Linked DNA regions of Homo sapiens: all the other regions are linked to region 1. Evidence: promoter capture Hi-C in 16 types of primary human blood cells and fetal thymus (Javierre and others, 2016). All regions are on one chromosome and are shown on one strand. Each heading gives the region's core, a stretch centred on a gene start or on the middle of the fragment in contact. The rest is flanking DNA. Distances are from core to core; before and after follow the strand shown.

Region 1 (3,245 bases), core at 417-2,916:
ATATTTCAGCTGTGCCTTTGTCTGTTGCCCACATGTCCAGGTAATTCTTTTAAGTAGTTTAAGAATGGTAAATTACACATTTTCTAGGAGACTGAAAATTCCTAATCAAAGGTTAATTATTTTTTGAAAATTATTTTTTGAAAAGTTTAGTAAAATCTTCTGAAGGCTTCATTTAGTTCTACATCTTGTAGAAGATTCAGAAGGCATCAGGTGTAACCTTCTGCTCTTTTCTCTATCCATTGCTGGCTCCCTACTTTCATTTTGAATTTATCCCTATTTCCCTATTTTTCCCCCTTTGTGTACAGATACGATCATTCTCCACCCTACCTTCCAGCACTTGCCCCTCTTCAACTACCACCTTCTCCATCCCTTGTTGAGAAAGCCTTCTCTCAACTTCTTGTTTATACTTAGATTCTTTTTTTCCTCACCTACAATTCCCACACTATTGAATAATTGTCTACTCCCACAGACCACATCATATCCCCTTGCCATCTTGCTTGTTGACAAGAGTGCATATGTGCCAGGCACTGTATGAGGCACCAAGGACACAAAATACATGATTCCTGTCCTCTATATTTAGGGTGAATTGTCAGAAGAAACTGGTATTACAAAGGTCAGTTAGAGAGTCATTGTGGTCAATCACTTATAAATCACAATACACTTTTTCTCTATTTTTAGTATTTTTCTATTACATATAAAAAACTACCTTCCATGAGAAACAATAGGATGGAGATTATTCAAGATATAGTGTGTCAAACTGAGAAATGAATACACAGAGTTAACGATTTGTTTGACCAGAGGCAAGAAAGCATTCACAGAATGCAAAGTGAAGTTAGACTTGCTGACTGAGTGCTTTGAAACTCCCGATTGAGAGGATGAACCTCATGCACAATTAGCGCCTTAAGGGAAGGTCTTGAGATGAAAGAAAAATGAAAATAGTTTTGTGGCCGCAGAATTTACTACCACTGGACGCAAGATGTCTAAAGTACTTTAAATGTGAACTCCAAGGGAGGTCAGAGATAAATTCGACTGCTAAAAATCAGATTTACAAAAGCAATATTCAACCATGTAGACTGGCAACTCCACTAGTGTTTGGAGCTCCCCATCCAGATGTACAACAAACTCTTGGAGACTTGGATGTGTTACACAGGGGGCCGGTCGGGTTTCCATTTAGGACCAGGAGATTATAATCACTTTATTTTAGCAACCTCCTTACTACAAGGCCAAAACTGACAGTCCTCTCTCCAGACCCTCGCGTCCGCCCTCCAGACTGTGCTTCCCGCGCCGGACAGGGAAGTGGGAGTGCGGACGACAATCCGCATCCTGCCAGCCAGACGTCACCAAGCTGTCTTCCAAGAGGCAGGCGGAGAGAGCTGACTTCCGATTGGGTCAGCCGAGGGGCACGGCTGGCTCCCTATTGGCTTACAGGAGGGGGCTAGAGAGAGGCGTGTCTCAACGTCACACCCGCCCCTAGTCTCCTTGCTGCTCAGGATTATGGGAGGGAAGGGAAGTCCAGGAGGGAAAAATGACCCGGAAAGACCTTTGCCGGCCTGGGCCAGCCCTCTTCCGGAGCTGATGTCTCCTCCCACCAACCAGGAGAGGTCCGCCCTAGGCCCCGCCCGTGCCGGGGGATCAGGTGATTGCGGGCCAACACGGTCACGTGACCGGGGCGCACCCGCCGATTGTGGCCATGGCGGCCGCAGTCTCTAGTGTGGTGAGACGAGTGGAAGAGCTCGGGGATCTGGCTCAGGCCCACATACAGCAACTTAGCGAAGCTGCCGGTGAAGATGGTGAGGGAGCGGAGGAGAGGGAGGCGGGCGGGGCAGACGGCGCTAAGGTACTGGCGCTCGATGGCTGTGAGGGCTAGAGGCTGAGGCCTGTGTTCCTTTGGGTCCCAGGCCGCAGGTGGTTACCCGAGGTCTGTCGCTTCTGAGCCCCTCTGCGCCATCGATTGCCCACTTCCCAGAACTCACAATGCCAAGGCGTTGTCTTCGAAAACCGCATTATTCAGAACCCATGGAAAATCTGTCTAGATCCGTGCTGGTGTAAACTGTCTCGGTAGCGATTGGAAGAAGGGCAGAATCTAAATAAAATACAGAAGTTTAAATAAATGGCTAAGATGAATGATAACACTCAAATTAGTTATGGTGGTTTGCATCCTGTAAAGATAAAAAGACATGTATAACAGTTCCACTTTTTCATTGCTGCGTTGTAATTTGCGTTTTACGTTTTGGATTCAAAACAACATTCTATAGAAGAGCTTTACATTGGTGTGTAGACTATTCTGCCCCATACATCATGCCAGTTCTCACAAGGGCTCTGTTAAGTATTGGCATACTTGTTTTGGAAAGGTCTAAGCTGTTAGGAAAAACTGGGCTAGGGAATTGCCTCAACCTTCTGAATTTAAGTCCAATTCTTTTCATTACGTCTCAGCTGCCTTTAGGTTCTACATTATTCCTTTTTGAGTTTGAGCAATTACTACAGATAGTTTTTAAAATTCTGTGGACTGACTCATATCATCGGACTCATAGGAAAACAGTGGTGGAACATTTTCTTAAGCGATTGAATAGTTGGTGAATTTGTTATTAAATAGGGTCTATGATGAAATGCCTTAGTTTCAGTGAATATTTTTTGCCAGATTATCATTTATCAGGAGTGTTTTGTTTTGTTTTGTTTTTAGAGGCAGAGTATCATTCTGTTGCTCAGGCTGGAGCCCCTCTAGTAGTGGGACAACAGGCGCACACCATCTCGCCCGGCTAACTTTGGCATATTTTGTAGAAACGGGGTTCACCATGTCATCCAGGTTGGTCCTGAACTCCTGGGCTCAAGCATTCCACCCGCTTTGGCTTCCCAAAGTGCTGGGATTACAGGCGTGAGCCACTGTGCCAGGCCAGGAGTGTGTTCTTTAAAGACCTACAGACCACCCTGAAGCCGACTTATATTTTGGTCTGTGGATTCACATGAATAATTCTTGGGTAGTAGGAGCTATTAACTTGAAAGTTATCTATGTTACCTCTAATTCCAGATTCACTTGAACCAGTCCAAAGAGACCAAAGAATGTTTTTTATTCACTTATCACTGAACTAAAAAGCCATTCTCATTTCCCTTGGAAGAGTTCTTTAATCTGGAATGAATCAGAGCTGGAAATAAAAGTCATGTGCTATATATGGAATTCTTGTTTGAAGGCTTTATACTTCTGAAAATTTACTAAAATAAAATGACAATGTTAGTGGTCCACATTATGA
Region 2 (3,245 bases), core at 290-2,789, 1.6 Mb after region 1:
GGAGAATCACTCGAACCCAGGAGGCGGAGGTTGCAGCAAGACGAGATCACGCCACTGCACTCCAGCCTGGACTACAGAGCGAGACTCCGTGTCACAAAAAAAAAAAAAAAAAAAAAATAGAAAGAATGAGTAAGACCTAGTACTTGATAGCACAACAGGGTAACTACAGTGAATAATAACTTAATTGTACATTCAACATAGTTCTGGCCAGGGCAATCAGGCAAGAGAAAGAAATAAAGGGTATTCAATTAGGGAAAGAGGAAGTCAAATTGTCTCTGTTTGCAGATGACATGATTGTATAATTAGAAAACCCCATCGTCTCAGCCCAAAATCTCCTTAAGCTGATAAGCAACTTCAGCAAAGTCTCAGGATACAAAATCAATGCGCAAAAATCACAAGCATTCCTATACACCAATAACAGACAAACAGAGAGCCAAATCATGAGTGAACTCCCATTCACAATTGCTACAAGGAGAATAAAATACCTAGGAATACAACTTACAAGGGATATGAAGGACCTCTTCAAGGAGAGCTACAAACCACTCACTGATCAAGGAAATAAGAGAGGACACAAACAAATGGAAAAACATTCCATGCTCATGGATAGGAAGAATGAATATCATGAAAATGGCCATACTGCCCAAAGTAATTTACAGATTCAATGCTATCCTCATCAAGCTACCATTGACTTCCTTCACAAAATTGGAAAAAACAACTTTAAATTTCACATGGAACCAAAAAACAGCATGCATAAATAGCCAAGACAATCCTAAGCAAAAGGAACAAAGGTGGAGGCATCACGTGACCTGACTTCAATCTATACTACAAGGCTACAGTAACAAAAACAGCATGGTACTGGTACCAAAACAGATATATAGATCAATGGAACAGAACAGAGGCCTGAGAAATAACACCACACATCTACAACCATCTGATCTTTGACAAATCTGACAAAAAAAAGCAATGGGGAAAGGAATTCCTAGTTAATAAATGGTGTTGGGAAAACTGGCTAGCCATATGCAGAAAGCTGAAACTGGATCCCTTCCTTACACCTTATACAAAAATTAACTCAAGATGGATTAAAGACTTAAACGTAAGACCTAAAACCATAAAAACCCAAGAAGAAAACCTAGGCAATTTAGGACACAGGCATGGGCAAAGACTTCGTCTTTTGTTACCAAAAGCAATGGCAACAAAAGCCAAAATAGACAAATGAGATCTAATTAAACGAAAGAGCTTCTACACAGCAAAAGAAACGATCATCAGAGCGAACAGGCCACCTACAGACTGGGAGAAAATTTTTTGCAATCTATCCAACTGAAAAAGGGCTAATATCCAGAATCTACAGAGAAACCAATTTACAAGAAAAAAGCAAACAACCCCATCAAAAAGTGGGTGAAGGATATGAACAGACACTTCTCAAAAGAAGACATTTGCCAGGCGTGGTGCTCACGCCTGTAATCCCAGCACTTTGGGAGGCTGAGGCAGGTGGATCACCTGAGGTCGGGAGTTCGAGACCAGCCTGACCAACACGGAGAAATCCCATCTCTACTAAAAATACAAAATTAGCCAAGCGTGGTGGTGCATGCTTGTAATCCCGGCTACTCGGGAGGATGAGGCAGGAGAATTGCTTGAATCCAGCAGGCAGAGGTTGTGGTGAGCCAAGATCACGCCATTGCACTCCAGCCCGGGCAACAAGAGCAAAACTCTGTCTCAAAAAAAAAAAAAAAAAAAATGAAAAAAGGCTCATCATCACTGGTCATTAGAGATATGCAAATCAAAACCACATCTCACGCCAGTTAGAATGGCGATCATTAAAAAGTCAGGAAACAACAGATGCTGGAGAGGATGTGGAGAAATAGGAACGCTTTTACACTGTTGGTGGGAGTGTAAATTAGTTCAACCAATGTGGAAGACAGTGTGGCGATTCCTCAAGGATCTAGAACTAGAAATACCATTTGATCCAGCAATCCCATTCCTGGGTATATACCCAAAGGGTTATAAATCATTCTACTATAAAGACTCATGCACACGTATGTTTATTGTGGCACTGTTTACAATAGCAAAGGCTTGGAACGAAATGCCCATCAGTGATAGACTGGATAAAGAAAATGTGGCACATATACACCACAGAATACTATGCAACCATAAAAAAGAATGAACTCATGTCCTTTGCAGGGACATGGATGAAGCTGGAAACCATCATTCTCAGCAAACTAACAGAACAGAAAACCAAACACCGCATGTTCTCACTCATAAGTGGAAGTTGAACAATGAGAACACATGGACACAGAGAGGGTACACAGGGAGGGGAATACCAGGGCCTATAGGTGGGTGGGGGGCTAGGGGAGGGATAGCATTAGGAGAAATACCTAATGTAGATGACAGGTTGATGGGTGCAGCAAACCACCATGGCACGTGTATACCTATGCAACAAACCTGCACATTCTGCACATGTACCCCAGAACTTAAAGTATAATTTAAAAAAAAGTCAGAAACAGTATAGCTATTATAACATCGTTTTGGCGGTTTTAATCAATGTAATGAGGAAAAAGAATAAAGGCAGGAGAGGGAGGGAAGAAAATGTATCATTACATTATCAGGAAGGAAAAGATAATTACATTAGTTTGCAGGTGAAATGACTGCCTACCCAAGAGAACCAACAGAAAACTGTTGGAATTTAAGTTGAAAAATGTGGTTAGTTCAAGGTATGAACTAAAACAATTTTTCAATATAATAGCAATAATCATAAGATGGGAAAATGAACATTCACAACAGCAACTCAAAATGCCAAGAATTAAAATAGCAAGAATGAAACAACAAAACTCTATTAAAAGATGAAAAAGATCAGTTAACTAGAGCTCTAATGGCTTTGTACTGTATCAACTCAGCTAACTCGGACTTAAAAACATTTCCCAGAATTCCCTTCCTTATATAGTTCTGGGTACTGTTGGCTATAGGAGACATTATATGGAACTCACAAATGAAGCAAGTCATATTTTTTACACCGTGAAGGTCAATGGAGAGCACACTGTGAAGTTTGCATGTGCTGCCGATCTGTTAGCTCACCTTGCTGGCATGGGGAAGAAGCTGGACCTGCAGCTCCTTCAACTCCCATCAGACCTTCTCTCCACTTCTCCAAATCCTGGGCCCACAAGTGCAGCTCTGACATCGAAAGTGTCATCCTCTCCTGCAGGTTACTCAAGCATCAAAACTAGGGTTGGTGAGAGGCTGATGCAGGTTCC
Region 3 (3,245 bases), core at 266-2,765, 1.5 Mb after region 1:
TTACAGACAAGGATTCTGGTGGTACTGCAGACTGATCAAAGATGAAAGGAGTGAGGTCAACACGGTGTTTCATGCATTTTGGAACTGGAAAAGCATCATTCGTTCAGCAAACATTTATTGATTGCCCATTCTGTGACAGGCCCTGAGCTCTGCATTCAAAGTTGAAATAAGGCATAATCTGTCCTTGTGATGCTTAATAGTCCAGTGGGAGGCAGGCCATAATAATCCCAACACAGCAAAATAAGTGTTAAAGAGTTATGTTCAAAGGGTTATGGGATTATACATGAAAGAAGCCAGATTCGAAAGGCCATACTGTATGATTCCCTTTATATGAAAGATCCAGAATGGGCAAATCCATAAAGACAGAAAGTAGATTAGTGGTTGCCAGGGGCTGGGGGGCTAAGGGATGGAGAGGGACGAGTGAAAGGAGGGGACACGGAGTGACTGTGAACAGGTACAAGATCTCTTTTTGGAGTGATGAAAATGTGCTGGAATTAGATATTGGTGATCACACAATTCTGTGAATATATTGAAGACCACTGAATTTTATACTTTAAAATGGAGAATTTTATGGTTTGTGAATACTGGTTGTTCCTACATTTATTAATGCATTTATTTCCTAAAACTGTTTCTTTCTTTAGCTATGCTGTGCTGCCTAAGTCAAACTCTTAATATCCTGAACAAGGTATTGGATTTATCACGTATCCACCCATTCATCCACCCATCTCACTATACGTGAATCACTACGCTAGACCCTGAAGGTAGAAAGATGAAGCGTTACTAGCCTCAAAGATTAGCTGTGGCCCAAGCAACTCTAATAGGAAACATACTTTCAGAAGCATGGTAGCAATTAAGAATCACAAGAAAATCTGTGTGTTTAGGAATTTGAGTTATCTGAGTGCTGATATCAATTCAAACAGTCTTAAGCCAGAAGAGTACCGGGGGCCTATATATACTTAGTAAACTGGATTGCATTTCTCAAATATTAATATAAACGTAGGATGGGCTCAGCTGGAGATCACTTGATCTAAGTCACATTAACTATAAAAAGGCAAGAAGCAGGCCAGCATTTATTACATGTTAGTAGGTGCAACTAGTGCCCTCCAGAGGAAGCAGAAAATATAAGAGGCCAGGAAACAACTTTGGAGAGAACATGGGAAGTTAGGCAATGGAGAATGTAAACTGGGTAGTTCCGAATAGGGCAACTGTAAAATTCTGTTAGATAACATCGCCCCCTAGAGGTTCCCTCCTGCAGCCTCCTGTCAGAATAGTTCCATTTTTAAAAAGCCATCAGCTACTTCCCTTTATTTCAATTATGACTCCAGAATTTCTATATAGGAGAGATTTTGGTGTGTCAATTAGGCTGAAAAAGATGATTATGTGACATTTCTTCAGCATTTACATAGTTTTGTTCAGATGATACTGAACAATGGTTGTTGGAGAGGTTGTTGGGGAGGCAAGCTGATAAGAGGTCGGGGAGGCCAAAACCTGTTTGCAAAGACCACCTTGGTCAGGTATATAATGGAAAATAACCAGCTTATGTTCCAGAATTGGAGTTCACACAAACACAAACCTGTATGATGGAGAAGGGGTTCCCCTGAAGAGAAATATGTGACTATTACTGAAAATAAGAGAAGTCTTGCAGAGTGGGCTTAATAAAGCAGCGGAGTCCAGAGGTATGAATGAGCAAGGATCTGAGGTATAATGCAAGACTTTGCCTGATCCACCCCCAACTGCCTCCCTAACCCCTCCTAGAGGTGCTCCCTTTGCTTTGGGAAGGGCAAAGCCCAACAGATCCATCTGGGAATTTCTCTGAAAAGTGATTTGTGAGATCAGCAGATGCGTTTCCCAGCTGGCCTGAGAAGCAGGCACTGAGGTCAGCTCTCTGGAGAAGTGGGCAACCACCAGTGGGTTTCAAATGGATCCAGAGCAGCTGCCCAACAGAGGAACCACAAAACTGGGAGTAAGGGTTCTGATTATGCAAGGGATCATCCCTCCTACACTATCAGGTCAACTTCCCCCAGACTCTTAGAGGGAAAGTACCCTTCTCCAGGACCCACTATTTGAGAATTGTCAAGAATATTTGGATTGAGAAATCCTGCAGCAACTTTGTAATTACTGCCAGGCAAGAAAGTGGGGACCCAGAACATCACAATTTCTACTCACCAACCAGTGAAGCCCAGAGTATAGGAGTTCCATGGGTAGCATCTGATGTGTCTATGCAGTGAATTGAAATCAGTATTTAAATCATATTTGAATCAGTTTGCTCTGGCATTTTTGAGATTGTATCAACTTTTGCTCCATTAAAAATAATGGTGTGCTTCTGTAGAGTGTGTGTGAAAGAAAGTAGGGGGAAAACATTTCTAACATAAGAGAAAATGTGGCAAGGGCTATGTGATAAACAGAATGGTATCTGGAACACTGAAAGGCAGAAGCGATAAATTATAGAGACTTGGGTCCATCTTTATCAAGGTGGTGGCATTTGAGCTGAAAATGTGAAAAATGGATAGAATATGAATAGGGCAGTAAATATAGAGGAGACAGTGGGTGTAAAGATACAAATGTGGAAAAAGGCAGATTCATGCAAATTTGGTTGGAATATAGAATTTATGAATGTAAGTTGTAGGAGGATGACATGAAAAGTATTTTGAGGCCAGACAGCTTTATATTTTATACCAATAACACGAGTTCAGTAACCTCTTTCTATGGAAACTTTAAAAATCAAGACATGACAATTCACCTAAACTAATACTTCTGTGGAAATGTAGATGTGAATAAATAAATGATGACTTAACTACTATTCCCCTTTCCTTGTGAAACATTTCAACACAGAGGAACTACCAAGAATAATAAAAACACCTATATACTCATCACCCAAATGTTATTAATGTTAAGTCTTTTCCATATTTGCCTTCAGTCTTATTTTTAAGTAACTGTTTCCAGTACTTTACTGTTACAAGCAAGGCTACAACAAACATCCTAATGATAACAGACATTGTTTGAGTTCTTACTGTGTGCCAGGCACTAGTGTAACTGCCATGTGTGAATTAATTTAAATAATCTACACAGCAACTATATGCAGAAGAAAGTATATTAATCACCATTTTATAAATGGGTAATAATATGCAGAAAAACTACATAACTTCCCCGAGATCAAAGGGCCAAGAAATAAATAGTGGGGCTGGAATTTGAATACATACATTCTGGCACTTTTTAGGCCTTTTGGTTATACTTTATTTGCTTTT
Region 4 (3,245 bases), core at 450-2,949, 1.4 Mb after region 1:
CTTCCTGTTGTGAGACACACGAAGTGAACTTGGTGTTGGGAGATGGAAGCTGAATGGCCCTTGGGGGCGACCCACAGGGTGTCAGACTTCGGGATATAGTAGAGAGAGAGCTTGGCACGACTTGTTACCCCAGGCTGTAGAATCCTGGAAAACAGCTACCATGCAGCCCATGCCGAGTCGACTGGAGGACCACCTTAGTGGAAAGGGGACAATCTGGGCCTCTGGCCTGCTATGTGCACAAGCATAACAATTGCTTTTGTTTAATGTGTGGATGGAATATTTGATACATTCCACCCAGGCATTTATATCTTGGTATCCTGTCTCAGTTGCCAAAGTTTGTTTTAAGTCTTTAACTTCTACCATCGCTATCTTGGCCTTGTCGGTAGATGGAGGAGGAACAATGGTTCCGTTGTGAGAGGTTTTGGAAAAAGGCTTAAAGGCAGGTGCAGGTGGCAGGGGATCAAAGAAATGCATTTCAAGGATCCAATAGGGTCTGTCCCTGACATCTAGCCCACATGCCATAAAATCGGCTTAAAGAAGGGAACTGGCTTAGAAAAGGGGAAGAACTTTGGGGGCTCAAGATAATAACCTATATAGGATTGCACTGGTTTAGCTGACAGTTATTGGGGGCTGTCCGTTTAGTAAAATGAATGTGTGGTTTTAGGAAATTACAAAAACTGGTCAGGGCAGTCCATCCTTGCTCTTTGGTGGTCCACAGAACGTTGGACCAACTACAGCATAAAAGCTCTGTGTCGGTGGGGGCAAGACTCCTGGTTGCCACTGGGGTCTTTATCAAAATCTCCCCGAATTAAATGGTCCCAATTCACTAATGCCCAGTATGAGGAGAGCCAGGAGGGACAGAGGTACTTTTCTGAAGTAGAGAGCTGCCTTTGACTTTACAAATCCCCACACAGTATAACAAGGCAAGCATCAAATGCAATAGTTTGAGGCGAAATTGACTTGGTTATGTTAATAACTAGATGATCAGCGATAGAACGAGGAAAGAAGAAAGTTAATAGAATAGATGAAAGAGAGTTAAATTCTTCTTAGCTTTAGTTTGGTAGGGTTTTCCCCTGGGACTATGGCCACTACTCTGGAGGGGGTGGCACTTTCTTGACCCGGGTGTGGTAAGTCCATCCTCTCTCTGCTGTGCGGACTGCAGTTTCAGTAGTTAGGAGCACTAAGTAAGGACCTTCCCAGACTGGCTCAAGCATCTCCTCTTTCCAGCTCTTGATGAGGACGTGATCCCCAGGCTGATGTTGATGCACCGGGAACTCCAAGGGCGGCACCTGTGCTAATAGACCTTTAGTTTTAAGAGAAGAGAAAGTAGAAGCTAGACCAAGCATATAATTTTTAAGGAATTGATCTTTTGTTTCAAAGGTAGGAATATCAGCAGTAGAGTGCAAATAAGGTAATCCATAGAACATCTCATAAGGAGAAAGACCAATGTCTTTCCGTGGTGCAGTTCAAATTCTCAGCAGGGCAATAGGAAGACACTTGGTCCATGGCAATCGAGTCTCTAAGACTAATTTGGTTAAGTGGTTCTTTAGAGTCTGATTCATTCTTTCTACTCTCCCTAATGAGGATGGGTGTCAGGGAGTATGGTATTCCCATCTAATATCTAATGTTTGGGATAGCTTTTTAATAATGTGTGTGGTGAAATGAGTTCCATTGTCTGAGTCAATATTTTCTATTAGTCCAAACCTGGGTACTATATTTTCAATTAGGGCCTTAACTGCATTATTGGCTGTTGCATTTGAAAAGGGAATAACTTCGACCTGGTGAGTGAGGTGGTCTACTATCACTAGTAAATATTTCAGACGACCTGTTGGAGGCATTTCTTTGTAATCAACTTGGATACTTTCGAATGGCTTTAAGCCTGGATTCCTTCCCCCGAGTGGTAATATTTTTGTAGTATGTCTATTAGTTTTCTTACATACTAAGCAACTATCTGTAACCTGTTTGGCCAGGGTATAAATTCCTATACAACCATAAACTCTGAGAATGGCATCACATGTGGCCTGGGGCCCCCAGTGGGTCCCCTGATGTAGTTGGGATAAGACTTCCCTCATAAGGGGTTTAGATAACGTTTCTCTCTGGTCTGGCAGTATCCACTTTCCTTCTGAATTCTCTTTAGCACCTATTTTTATTACTTTCTCTTTTTTGGTGGAAGAGAAAATGGGGATTATGGTAGGAGGAGGGAGGTAGGGAGTTAAGTGAAAAATACACATTCAAAAGACACAGCAGCCTGCTTGTCTACCTGATCTGCTAGGTTATTTCCTCGACTTTCAAAAGAAAGAATTTTCTGGTGTCTGGGAACATGGACAATAGCTATTTCTTCTGGCAACCGAAAATTATTCAATACTTGGGTGATCAGCTCCTTGTGAACAAGGTCTTGACCTTTACTATTGATGAGACCTAGTTCAGTCCAAATTTTCCAAAACATATGGGTCACTCCAAAGGCATACCTGGAATCTGTATAGATGGTTCCTTCCTGGTTCTGTAAGTACTTTAAGGCTTGGCTGAGTGCAAGCAGCTCACACGTTTGAGCAGACGAACTGTTGGGCAATTTTCCTGATTCTATTTCTATGAGAGTTTCTCCATCAATCACTGAATACCTACTGTGTCTTTTTCCCTCAATCACCCCGGAAGAACCATCTATGAATAAGTGCCATCCAGTCCAGAAGGGGGTTTCTTCTAGGTCTGGTTGAACCTTTGTATGGTAATCAATTAAATCTAAACATGTGTGTTCCCCCCTTAGATGTGGATTCCTTGTTAAGAAACCTGCTGGGTTGAGTGAATTATCAGTAGTCAATGTTAAATCATCCTTTTCTAACAGAATGGCCTCATGCTTTAAGATTCTTTATTCAGTAGGCCATCTCCCTGCTCTCTGGTAGTTCTAACTCGGTGAGGCGTGCTTACTGTCAATTTTCCTCCAAAGGTTAACTTTCTGCTTTCCCCGACTAGTATTGCCATAGCCACGATGGACTGGATGCATTGAGGCCATCCACGAGTGACTGGGTCTAAGACCTTTGATAGGAAGGCTACGGGCTGCCGGTGGCATCTGTGTTCTTGAGTCAGCACTCCTAAAGCTACCCCACTGTACACATTAACAAAAAGGTGGAATGGCTTTTCTAGGGAGGGTAAGGCTAAAACAGGCAGTTATGAGCCTTTCTTTCCTTCAGCTTCTCGACTTGATCAACTTCCTCAGAAGTCCACAGGAGACGGTTAGGCTTCTCCTGGGC
Region 5 (3,245 bases), core at 465-2,964, 1.2 Mb after region 1:
CCCGGCCATCAGTTACATTTTTTTTTGAGACTGAGTTTTGCTCTTGTTGCCCCGGCTGGAGTGCAATGGCGCAATCTCGGCTCCCCCCAACCTCCGCCTCCCAGGTTCAAGCAACTCTCCTGCCTCAGCCTCCCGAGTAGCTGGGATTACAGGCATGCACCACCACGCCTGGCTAATTTTGTATTTTTAGTAGAGACGGGGTTTCTCCATGTTGAGGCTGGTCTCGAACTCCTGACCTCAGGTGATCCACCAACCTCGGCCTCCCAAAGTGCTGGGATTACAGGTGTGAGCCACTGCGCCCGGCCATCAATTGCATTTTTATACACTAACAATGAACTATCTGGAAAGGAAATTAGGAGAACAATCCCATTTATATTGACACCATAAAGAATAAAGTAACTGGGAATAGGCTTAACCTTTCACCTCCTTAGGTGAGAGACATGCAATACTGAGAACCATAAAACATTAAAGAAATTGGGCTGGGCACAGTGGCTCACGCCTGTAATCCCAGCACTTTGGGAGGCGGAGGCGGGTGGATTGCTTGAGGTCAGGAGTTCAAGACCAGCCTGAACAACATGGTGAAACCCTGTCTCTTCCGGAAAAAAATACAAAAATTAGCTGGTTATGGTGGCCCATTCCTGTAGTCCCAGCTATTCGGGAGGCTGAGGTTGCAGTGAGCATGGATTGCACCACTGCACTCGAGCCTGGGCGACAGAGCGAGACTCCGTCTCAAAAAAGAAAAAAGAAACTAAAGACACTCAATAGATCTTCATGGATTTGGAACACTCAGTATTGTTAAATTGTCCATACAGATTGAGCATCTCAAATTTGAAAATCTGAACTGCTTGCCAGGTGCAGTGGCTCACGCCTATAGTCCCAGCACTTTGGGAGGCCGAGGCGGGCATATCACAATTTCAGGAGTTCAAGACCAGCTGGCCAACGTAGTGAAACCCTGTCTCTACTAAAAATATAAAAATTAGGTGGGTATGGTGGTGCGTGCCTGTAGTCCCAGCTACTTGGGAGGCTGAGGAAGGAGAATCGCTTGAACCCGGGAGGTGGTGGTTGCGGTGAGCCGAGCCTCTGTACTCCAGCTCGGGCAACAGAGTGAGACTTGGTCTCGAAGAAGAAAAAATGAACTGCTATAAAATTTGAAACTTTCTGAGCATCAACATGACTCAACGGAAATGCTTGTTGGAGCATTTTGGATTTCGGATTTTCAGATTTGGGATGCTCAACCTGTGTCAAGTATAATGCAAATATTTCAAAATCCAAAACAGTTGTGATCCCAAGCTTTTCATATGAGGGATATTCAGCCTGTATTACAGAAAGTGGGCTACAGATTCAATACAGTCCCTCTCAAAATCCTGATGGAATTTTTTTTGTTTTATGGAAACAGGAAAAGCAGTTCTAAAATTCATATGGAACCACAGAAAATCATGGACTAGCCAAATCAATCTTGAAAAAGAACAAAGCTAGAGGCATCATACTTTTTTTTTTTTTTTTTTTTTTTTTTTTTTGAGGTAGTCTTACTGTGTTGCCCAGGCTGAAGTGCAGTGGTGTAATCTTGGCCCACTGCAGCCTTAGCCTCCCAAGTAGCTGGGATTACAGGTGCGTGCCACCACCCCCATCTAATTTTTTTCTTTTTTTCTTTTTTCTTTTTCTTTTTTTTTTTTTTTTAGTAGAGACGGAGTTTCACCATATCGACCAGGCTGATCTCGAACTCCTGACCTCAGGTGATCCACCAGCCTTGGCCTCCCAAGGTGCTGGGATTACAGGCATGAGCCACTGCACCCAGCTGACATGATACTTCTTGATATCAAAATATTTTACAGAGCTACAATAACCAAAACAGTATGGGACTAGCTTAAAGAGACATACAGACCAAAGGAGCAGAATAGAGAGCCCACAAATAAAAACATGCAAATAATATGGTCAACTGATCTTCAGGGATGCCAAGAATGCACAATAAGGAAGGAATGTTTTCTGCAACAAATGATGTTGGAAGAACTAGGTATTCACATGAAAAAAGATGAAATTGGACCCCTATCTTCTACCATAAAAAAGAAAAAAACTCAAAATGAATTGGAGACTTAGACATAAGACCAAAAAATGTAAATCTCCTGGAAGAAAACATGAGGGGAAGCTTCACCACATCATTCTTAGTAATTTCGTGGATGTGACGTCAAAAGCACAGCCAACAACAGAAAATAAGACAGGTGGGACTACATCAAACTAAAAAGCTTCTGTACAGCAAAGGAAACAACTGAGTGAAAAGGAAATCTAAGGAATGGGAGAAAGTATTTGCAGAACCAAATAAATGATAAGGAATGAATCCCAAAAATATATGAGAAACTCCCACAACTGATAGTAAAAAATATCTGCCCAATTAAAAACAGTCTAAATGATGCAGAAAAAAATTAAATTAAAAATGTTTTTTTAAATGTGCTAAGAACTTGAATAGACATTTCTCCAAACAGATGGCCAACAGATACATGAAAAAAAAGTTCAGTGTCACTAGGCATCAAGGAAATGCAAATCAAAACCACTATGAGGTATCAGTCACTTCACACCTTTCAGGATGGCTATCAAAAAAAAAAAGACAACTAGTATTGGTGAGGATATAAATAAATTGGAATCCTTGCACAATGTTGGCAGGAATAGGTGCAGCCATTATGGAAAACAGTATGAATGTTCCTTAAAAAATTAAAATACCATACAATTCAGCAATCCCACTTGCTGAACATTTATCCAAAAGAACTGAAATCAGGATCTTGAAGTTTTAGCACTCCTATGTTCATTGCAGCACTATTTACAGTAGCCACGAGAGGAAATAAATATTCGTCAACAGATTAATGGATAAAGAAAATGTAGTATATGTATCCAATGGAATACTATTCAGCTCTTAAGAACAAGGATATTCTGCATATGCAACCACATGGATGAACCTTGAGGACATTATGCTAAGTGAAGTAAGCCAGTCACAGACATAAACTGCATATTTCTATTTATATGAGGAATCTAAAATAGTCACTTCCACTCATATGAGCTATCTCAAATAGATTGAAAGAGTGGAATACGGGTTGCTAGGGGCTGGGAGGGAGGAGGAAATGGGCAGTTACTAATCAGTGGGCATAAAGTTTCAATTGCGCAAGATGAATAAACTGGAGGTCTGTACAACATTGTACCTAGAGTCAACAATAGTGTACACTTAAAAATGTGTTAAGTGGGTAGATCTCATGTTCTTA
Region 6 (3,245 bases), core at 385-2,884, 1.2 Mb after region 1:
TGGGTGGGTCCTGAAAAATTAGGTAAAGCAGAGTAGGTTGCCCGGTATTAAATAAGAAAAAATACTGGCCTACCTGCCACCATCAGGGTTACCCTTGTCTTAGATGAAGCAATGGTAGTTGCCGGGGCGTCCATTCCAGGGCCCCATCAGTCTTCAGTGGCAAGGCCAGTGAGATCCGAGTAGGAGGTTTTGGCCAGCTCAGGAAGGGATGGGAGTGGTCCTTGTGGGGGCCGCTCACAGTCCAACTTCCAGTGGGGTCCTCTGCAGAGGGGGCATGGCCTGATGGGCTTACCTGGGTTTGGGCATTGTCTAGACCAGTGGCCTTCATTGCCATACTTGAAACATGCGCCAGGTGGAGGTGGATTGCTAGGAGGCTTCTGTGTGGAGCTGCGGCCCTGTGGGCCTGCAGGGCCCCGGATGGCGGAGTCAAGCATTTGAAACTCTGCATGTTTTTGCCTTTTATTTTCCTCATCACGATTGTTAAAGACTTTGAAGGCTAAATTAAGAAGGTCTCGTTGTGGGTTTTGAGAGCCATCATCAAGCTTCTGTAGCTTACGCCGAATATCGGGGTGGATTGGGACATGAACTAAAGGTTTAAAATAGTGGTTCCTTCTGGGCTGGTTGGGTCTAGGTTGGTATATTTTCTCATGACTTCAGTTAAACAAGAGAGAAAAAGGGCTGTTTTTTCGTCAGGATCTTGGGGGATTTCTGAAAGTTTTTCATAGTTTATCGCTTTATGGGCACCCTTTTTGAGTCCTGCAAGGAGACACAATTGTGGTCTCAATGGTAGCGTCCAGAGGCCCTGTCTTGATAATCCCAGTGGGGGTCCTGGTTGGGGACTGCCTGTGCGCCAGTAGGCTGGGCAGGAGCTTGGTGATAAATTGATCAGCATGCCCCTGAGCTAGGGTCCAGATATGGTCCCGGTCTTCTGGGGTGAGGGTGGAAGAGAGGATAACGTAGAGGATATGCCAGATTAGTTCATAAGACTGGGTAAGGTACTGAAACTCCCTAATATAAGAGGTCAGGTCTTCTGGAAATGAACCCAGTCTTTTGTTAATTTGAGAGAAATCAGTGAGGGAGAAGGGAACATGAACTCTAACAATACCTTCAGTTCCTGCTACTTCCTGAAGAGGGCACTCTAGCACAGGCACTAAAGTAAGGGTGGGGCATGGCCAAACATGGCACCTGAACAAGTGTGGATGGGAGAGAAGGAAGAACCTGGAAGTGGTTCCTGCTGAGTGTTTGAAGGGGAAAGGGGGATTGAGTTAACAGGTAGTGGAGGATAGATAGGGGCGTAAGGTGGTGGGATGGGTTTACAAGCCTCAGGAGAAGGCAGTAGGGGAGGAGAATGGGTACAGGCAATACTAGAATTGTCCTGAGGAGGGGGCGGTGTAGGAAAAGAAGCAGATACTGCTGACTGGGAAGATGGTGGCTGGGAAGATGGCGGTTGAGAAGACAACGAGGAGGCTTGGGCTAAAGAAGACGATTGAGAGGAAGAGGTAGGGGTTGGGAGGGGTGGACAGCAGTCTGCTGGATCTAACGAGGAAAAAGAGGTAGGGTTGGGAGGAGAAAGACAATCAGGGTGGCAAGAATGGAGGAGAAGGATTTGAACAGGTGAGCAAGAATTGCAGAGGTCGGGTTGTGATCTGAGTGCAAAAAGGCCTGGACATAAGGAATTTCTCCCCATTTCTCTAGTCGTTGTCAATAATTGCTTAACTCAGTTAAAACTGTAAAGTCGAATGTTCCATTTGCGGGCCATTTGGACCCATTATCCAATTCGTATTGTGGCCAGACTGAATTGCAAAAAAAGACAAGGCGCTTAGGGTGGATATTTTGCCTGAGGCCTAAGGTTTGCAGGTTTTTTATGGGGCAGCCTAGAGGGCTGTTTTTTGGAAGGGAGGACCGGGAGTTTCCCATAACAGAGGGTAGGCTCAGGAGAACAGGGAAAAAGGAGACCGTCCTGGACGGCCAGAGGGAGACAAAAGGAGCAATCATCATCACCGCTGCCTTTTTCATTCCTGGAACGGGATCAAATGGATTAGAGGCGTCTCCCTAAGACCAGGTGATGGGATGATCAGCGAGTACCTGGCACACGCCGGAGCCTTGCTGGACCGACATTGGATTTTTGGACCGTAGACACCAAGAGAGGCCATGTGGCTTTTCCCTTGTTAACTGGGCTCCTAGGGAAACTTACCAATAGGCAAGGCCAGTGACCAATGTGCATGCACAGAGAGGCAACTGGAGGCTGAGGAGCTTCCTTTGTCCTGCTGCTGTGGCCTGTTCTCCAGGGTGGAGGGGTAGGTCCATGGGGGATGTGGACCAGAGCCCCTCCCCGGTTTCGGCACTAGATGTAAGGTTCTTGTGTTGGTTCAAACCCTGAGAGCACGCCAAAAGACAACACGAAGTGGTGTGGAGCAGCAACATGCTGTTTTAATGAGCACGTGAGTGCAGGTGGGCTGAGGCCTAAAATGGCATCAGCCCCAAGTGAGGACGGTACAGGGGGTTTATAGTCCTCTGTAAACAGGAAGTGTCCCAGTCTAACATGACTGCTATGTAGTACGCGACGGCCTCTTTCTCGATCTTCAGGGGTACGTGTCTTCTGGCCAGGGAATGTGTCTTCCGGCTGGCTCTCTTCCTGCTTCTGCTATCTTGCTGACACACGCTGCTGGTGCAAGTGGCGTTGTGCCTTGGGACTGGGCCTGAGAAGGGGGGAGTTACTCATCCCTTCAAGCTTTGGGTCCCCGGGGAGAATCTTTCAAGTATGAACCTGGCCTTGTGAAAGCAGAGCTCCAGTTACACAGTGTATCCCGAATCCATGAATGTTATGATGGTGCTAATTTGAACCACTAAGAGGCCTTGTGAGAGTCTCTTCTTTCCCAGAAAATGTGGGGAACACAGAGAGTGTCTTTCTGGATAGACATACCCAAGAAACTTCTGCTGAGGAAAGTGAAAGCAAAGATACAACTTATCCCAGAAAGGGGAGTGCATATGTAGATGGTGATAAGTAATATAGCCTGAAATATTCACATGGATATAATTAGAGTTAGGGTTATAGTTAAGGAGGAAGGGAAGGGAGACAGAAAGAAAGCAAGTAAGAAAGGAAGCAAGAAAAGATAAAACTGTGTCCAAGTTTCTTACTTGTATTAAACAGAGTGTTTTTCTAGATATTGTTAACCAAGATAAGGAATCCCTAAAGAGAGGCAGGCTTGATTTAGAGCTGTCTGAGGGCTTCCAAAAGAGCTGTT
Region 7 (3,245 bases), core at 580-3,079, 1.1 Mb after region 1:
GAGATCCTGCCTCTACCAAAAAAAGAAAAAAAAAATTGAAAAATTAGTCGGATTTGGTCTCGAGTGCCTGTAGTCCCAGCTACTCGGGAAGCCGAAGTGGGAGGATCTCTTGAGCCCTAGAGATGCAGGCTGCAGTGAATGGTGATCTGGGACCGCATCACTGCAGTTCAGTCTGGGTGACAGAGGGAGACGTTGTCTCAGAAAATAAAATAAAATAAAAAATAACATAACTGGGATTACAAGCTCTGTAAGAAGGGGTCACCTGAGACATTATTACATATACCATTAACAGAGGAAAATGCTGCAAATTATACTGTGTCCCAATGGTAAGAGGCCACCCATTTAAAAATATATACATATTTCAGAGATACTAAATGAGAAAAATGTTTACCCTAGAACTGATTAAATTCAGGTATCCACTCCTTTATTTTCAATCTTTAGTGCCATTTTTTAGTTTGTTTATGTCTTGAAAATAGCATAGAGATTAGAGTTGTAATTCTTTATTTTTTAAATTATTTTTATTTTGTTCACTTATTTATTTATTTTTGAGACAGAATCTTGCTCTGTCACCCAGGCTGGAATGCAGTGGCACGATCTCAGTTCACTGTAACCTCTGCTTCCGAGGTTCAAGCCATTCTTGTGCCTCAGCCTCCAGAGTAGCTGGGACCACTGGCTCCTGCCACAACACCCGGGTAATTTTTGTATTTTTAGAAGAAACGGGGTTTCACCATGTTGGCCAGGCTAGCCTTGAACTCCTGATCTCATGTGATCCACCCACCTCGGCCTCCCAAAGTGCCAGGATTACAGGCATGAGCCACCATGCCAAGCCAAGTTGTAATTTTTTGAAACCTATTTTTTGATTGTATTTGTTTTTTTCATAGCTCAATACACTGAAATGGTTGGGTAAGTGGGAAAATCATCTTCCCCACTCCTCCAGTATCTGTAAGGTGCAATTTCTCATAAACACTTTCAGCTTCTTGCCTCCCCTTTTAGTTCTTCTCACATATTGTGTGGTTTGTGGCATGAAAATCATTATTTGTGACAGACACCATACCAACTATATTTTGTGCTTTATCTTGTTTCATTCTCAACCGAAAAATGTGGTGAGCACATGCTTTGTGCTGGGCTTTCTTCTTAGTTCTCTCCATTTTGTAGATGCACAGCCTCACTTAGGGAAGTTGGAGTGCATATAGCTCTGTCTGTGGCTGAATAGATAAATGTAATTTTAGCATTCAATGTTAAGAAATCAACTCTTGGTGCAAATTTAAGGCTCATCTTCTAATGTAGTGTGTGTGTGTGTGTGTGTGTGTGTGTGTGTGTGTGTGATTTTACTGTGTCCCTTCTCCCTAACACTCCAGTTCAAGATAGCAACCTAAGTTCTGAGTTGATTATTCTGGACACACTCTCTCAAAATTTGACTGTTGGACACCAGAATACACCACCCCAATATACCAATATACCTCTGGCATATTGATTATTTCAGGCCTAGCATGGTAGCTCACACCTGTAATCCTAGTGCTTCGGGAGCCCAGGAGTTCATCAGCAGGCTGGGCACATAAGGGGTCCCATCTCTACAAAAGTATTTTTTAAAAATTAGCTGGGTGTGGTGGCATGAGCCTATAGTCCTGGTTACTAGGGAAGCCAAGGCAGGAGGATGGCTTGAATCCAGAAGTTTAAAGTTACAGAGAACTATAATCATGCCACTGCATTTCAGCCTGGGTGAAAGAGTAAGACCCTGTCTCTAAAACAAAAACAAAATAGGGCTGGGAACTGGTGGCTCACGCCTGTAATCCCAGCACGTTGGGAGGCCGAAGTGGGCAGATCACCTGAAGCCAGGAGTTTGAGGCCTGGCCAACAGTCTCTACTAAAAATATAAAAATTAGCTGGGTGTGGTGGTGCATGCCTATAATCCCAGCTACACAGAGGTTGAGGCACGAGAATTGTTTCAACCCAGGAGGCAGAGGTTGCAGCGAGCCCAGATCATGCCACTGCACCCCACCCTGGGCGATAGCGCAAGAAGACTCTGTCTAAAAAAAAACAAAACAAATTAAAAAAAAAACAAAACGAGATGAGAGAAAACCTTCATCTGTACTGTACTGCTATACTCCTTACTCCTCTTTATGACAGAATACAGAAAGATAAAGACAAAGAAAAGACTATTCTGGGAGGAAAGGGGATGAAACAACATGATTCATACTACAAAGTACCAAAAAGTACACCAGAGTCGATACACCAGCACTAGTCACACAAATCCTTTTCTCCCATCAGTCAATATTTTGGACAGGAAAAATAGAGAGTGATTTTTACTGTCTACTTCACCAGATTCCACAGAGTGGGGCCTGGAATCTGGCTGGTAAAAATTCTTTATCCTTATGCTGGCTGATCAGCTCCTGGTTTCCCTCAACTGTGGGCTTCCAAAAGAGCCAAACTTTGGGTTCCTGCTCACAGCACCAAATTTTCAGGGGCCAAGGGAAATCTTTCTCTGCGCACTCTGAAAGTTTGCTCTAAAATGGACTCACAGAGGCAGATTAATAGGAGAAAACACATAGAAAATGTATGATTGCTCAGCCCCTCAGTGAGGTGCAGGAGGTTATATACCATCTTGAGGTTACACAAAAAAGTGCATCATGCCAAAACAGGTTATAGGAGAGAGAAAACTTGTAAGGGTTCAGACTCTGTTAATCCTTCCTAGATCCAGACAAGAGAAGGCCTGTATGAATCAATGCAGATTTTCTACAGATGCAAATTTTTCCCACAAACGAAAGCATTGCAGGACTACTTATTTTGCTGGTTCTCTGGCAGCCATCTGAAAATATTTCAAATAAATATATTTTGGGGTTAAACATTTTTATTTCTTTCAAGGTGGAATATTAACTATGTATGTCTCTTATAGATATAGTTTTAAATAAATAAGGGAATCCACTTTTTCTAATTTGTTAAGATATGTTTTGTTTTAAGAATGACAAGGGGTTAAATTTTTAAAAGATTTTCTGCATCTACTGATATTATCACATGGTTTACTTCCTTTTTAATGTTAATGTGTTGACTAATATTAACTGATTTTCAAGTGCTAAACCAATATTGAGTTCATGGAATAAATCCCACTGGATCATGATGTATTTTTTAAAACATATATTGCTGGATTCAATATGCTAATACATTATAATTTTTATCACCTGTGATCATGAGAGCTCTTGGCTAACCAAAAAATTGGGGGATTGACAAGAGTGATATACAAAATAGGC

What was found. The method cuts DNA at HindIII sites, captures the fragments that hold promoters and counts their contacts. A CHiCAGO score of 5 or more calls a contact.
Region 2: a fragment that was not itself captured here is called in contact with the fragment with the promoter of RIMOC1 in region 1 in 1 of 17 cell types (neutrophils); the score reaches 8.5 in neutrophils.
Region 3: a contact is called between a fragment that was not itself captured here and the fragment with the promoter of RIMOC1 in region 1, in 1 of 17 cell types (neutrophils). The highest score is 8.3, in neutrophils.
Region 4: a fragment that was not itself captured here is called in contact with the fragment with the promoter of RIMOC1 in region 1 in 1 of 17 cell types (neutrophils); the score reaches 9.5 in neutrophils.
Region 5: a fragment that was not itself captured here is called in contact with the fragment with the promoter of RIMOC1 in region 1 in 2 of 17 cell types (neutrophils and naive CD8 T cells); the score reaches 5.8 in neutrophils.
Region 6: a fragment that was not itself captured here is called in contact with the fragment with the promoter of RIMOC1 in region 1 in 1 of 17 cell types (naive CD8 T cells); the score reaches 5.4 in naive CD8 T cells.
Region 7: a fragment that was not itself captured here is called in contact with the fragment with the promoter of RIMOC1 in region 1 in 1 of 17 cell types (neutrophils); the score reaches 13.7 in neutrophils.

The regions. Positions count from the first base shown.
Region 1 is chr5:41,902,678-41,905,922 of GRCh38, forward strand. It overlaps RIMOC1 (RAB7A interacting MON1-CCZ1 complex subunit 1), which reads left to right and starts at 1,667. Exons shown (of 6, transcript NM_175921.6): 1 at 1,667-1,790. The coding sequence starts at 1,691. RefSeq lists enhancers at 1,100-1,239, 1,351-1,897, 1,650-1,769. The HindIII fragment of the contact is 10,560 bases long and covers 1-3,245 here.
Region 2 is chr5:43,473,045-43,476,289 of GRCh38, forward strand. All of the region lies in intron 1 of TMEM267 (transmembrane protein 267), which reads right to left. Among named protein-coding and RNA genes, the nearest start is that of TMEM267, 9.2 kb to the right of the region's middle. The HindIII fragment of the contact is 7,857 bases long and covers 1-3,245 here.
Region 3 is chr5:43,388,717-43,391,961 of GRCh38, forward strand. All of the region lies in intron 1 of CCL28 (C-C motif chemokine ligand 28), which reads right to left. Among named protein-coding and RNA genes, the nearest start is that of CCL28, 22 kb to the right of the region's middle. The HindIII fragment of the contact is 5,574 bases long and covers 1-3,245 here.
Region 4 is chr5:43,316,672-43,319,916 of GRCh38, forward strand. No RefSeq gene overlaps it. Among named protein-coding and RNA genes, the nearest start is that of HMGCS1, 4.9 kb to the left of the region's middle. The HindIII fragment of the contact is 3,484 bases long and covers 1-3,245 here.
Region 5 is chr5:43,134,990-43,138,234 of GRCh38, forward strand. The region is part of intron 3 of ZNF131 (zinc finger protein 131); the gene reads left to right. Among named protein-coding and RNA genes, the nearest start is that of ZNF131, 16 kb to the left of the region's middle. The HindIII fragment of the contact is 853 bases long and covers 1,289-2,141 here.
Region 6 is chr5:43,072,916-43,076,160 of GRCh38, forward strand. All of the region lies in intron 2 of LOC100506639 (a long non-coding RNA gene), which reads left to right. Among named protein-coding and RNA genes, the nearest start is that of ANXA2R-OT1, 7.1 kb to the left of the region's middle. RefSeq lists enhancers at 898-1,399, 972-1,266, 1,400-1,899. The HindIII fragment of the contact is 2,189 bases long and covers 541-2,729 here.
Region 7 is chr5:43,045,613-43,048,857 of GRCh38, forward strand. The region is part of intron 2 of ANXA2R-OT1 (ANXA2R overlapping transcript 1); the gene reads right to left. Among named protein-coding and RNA genes, the nearest start is that of ANXA2R-AS1, 5.1 kb to the left of the region's middle. The HindIII fragment of the contact is 4,869 bases long and covers 1-3,245 here.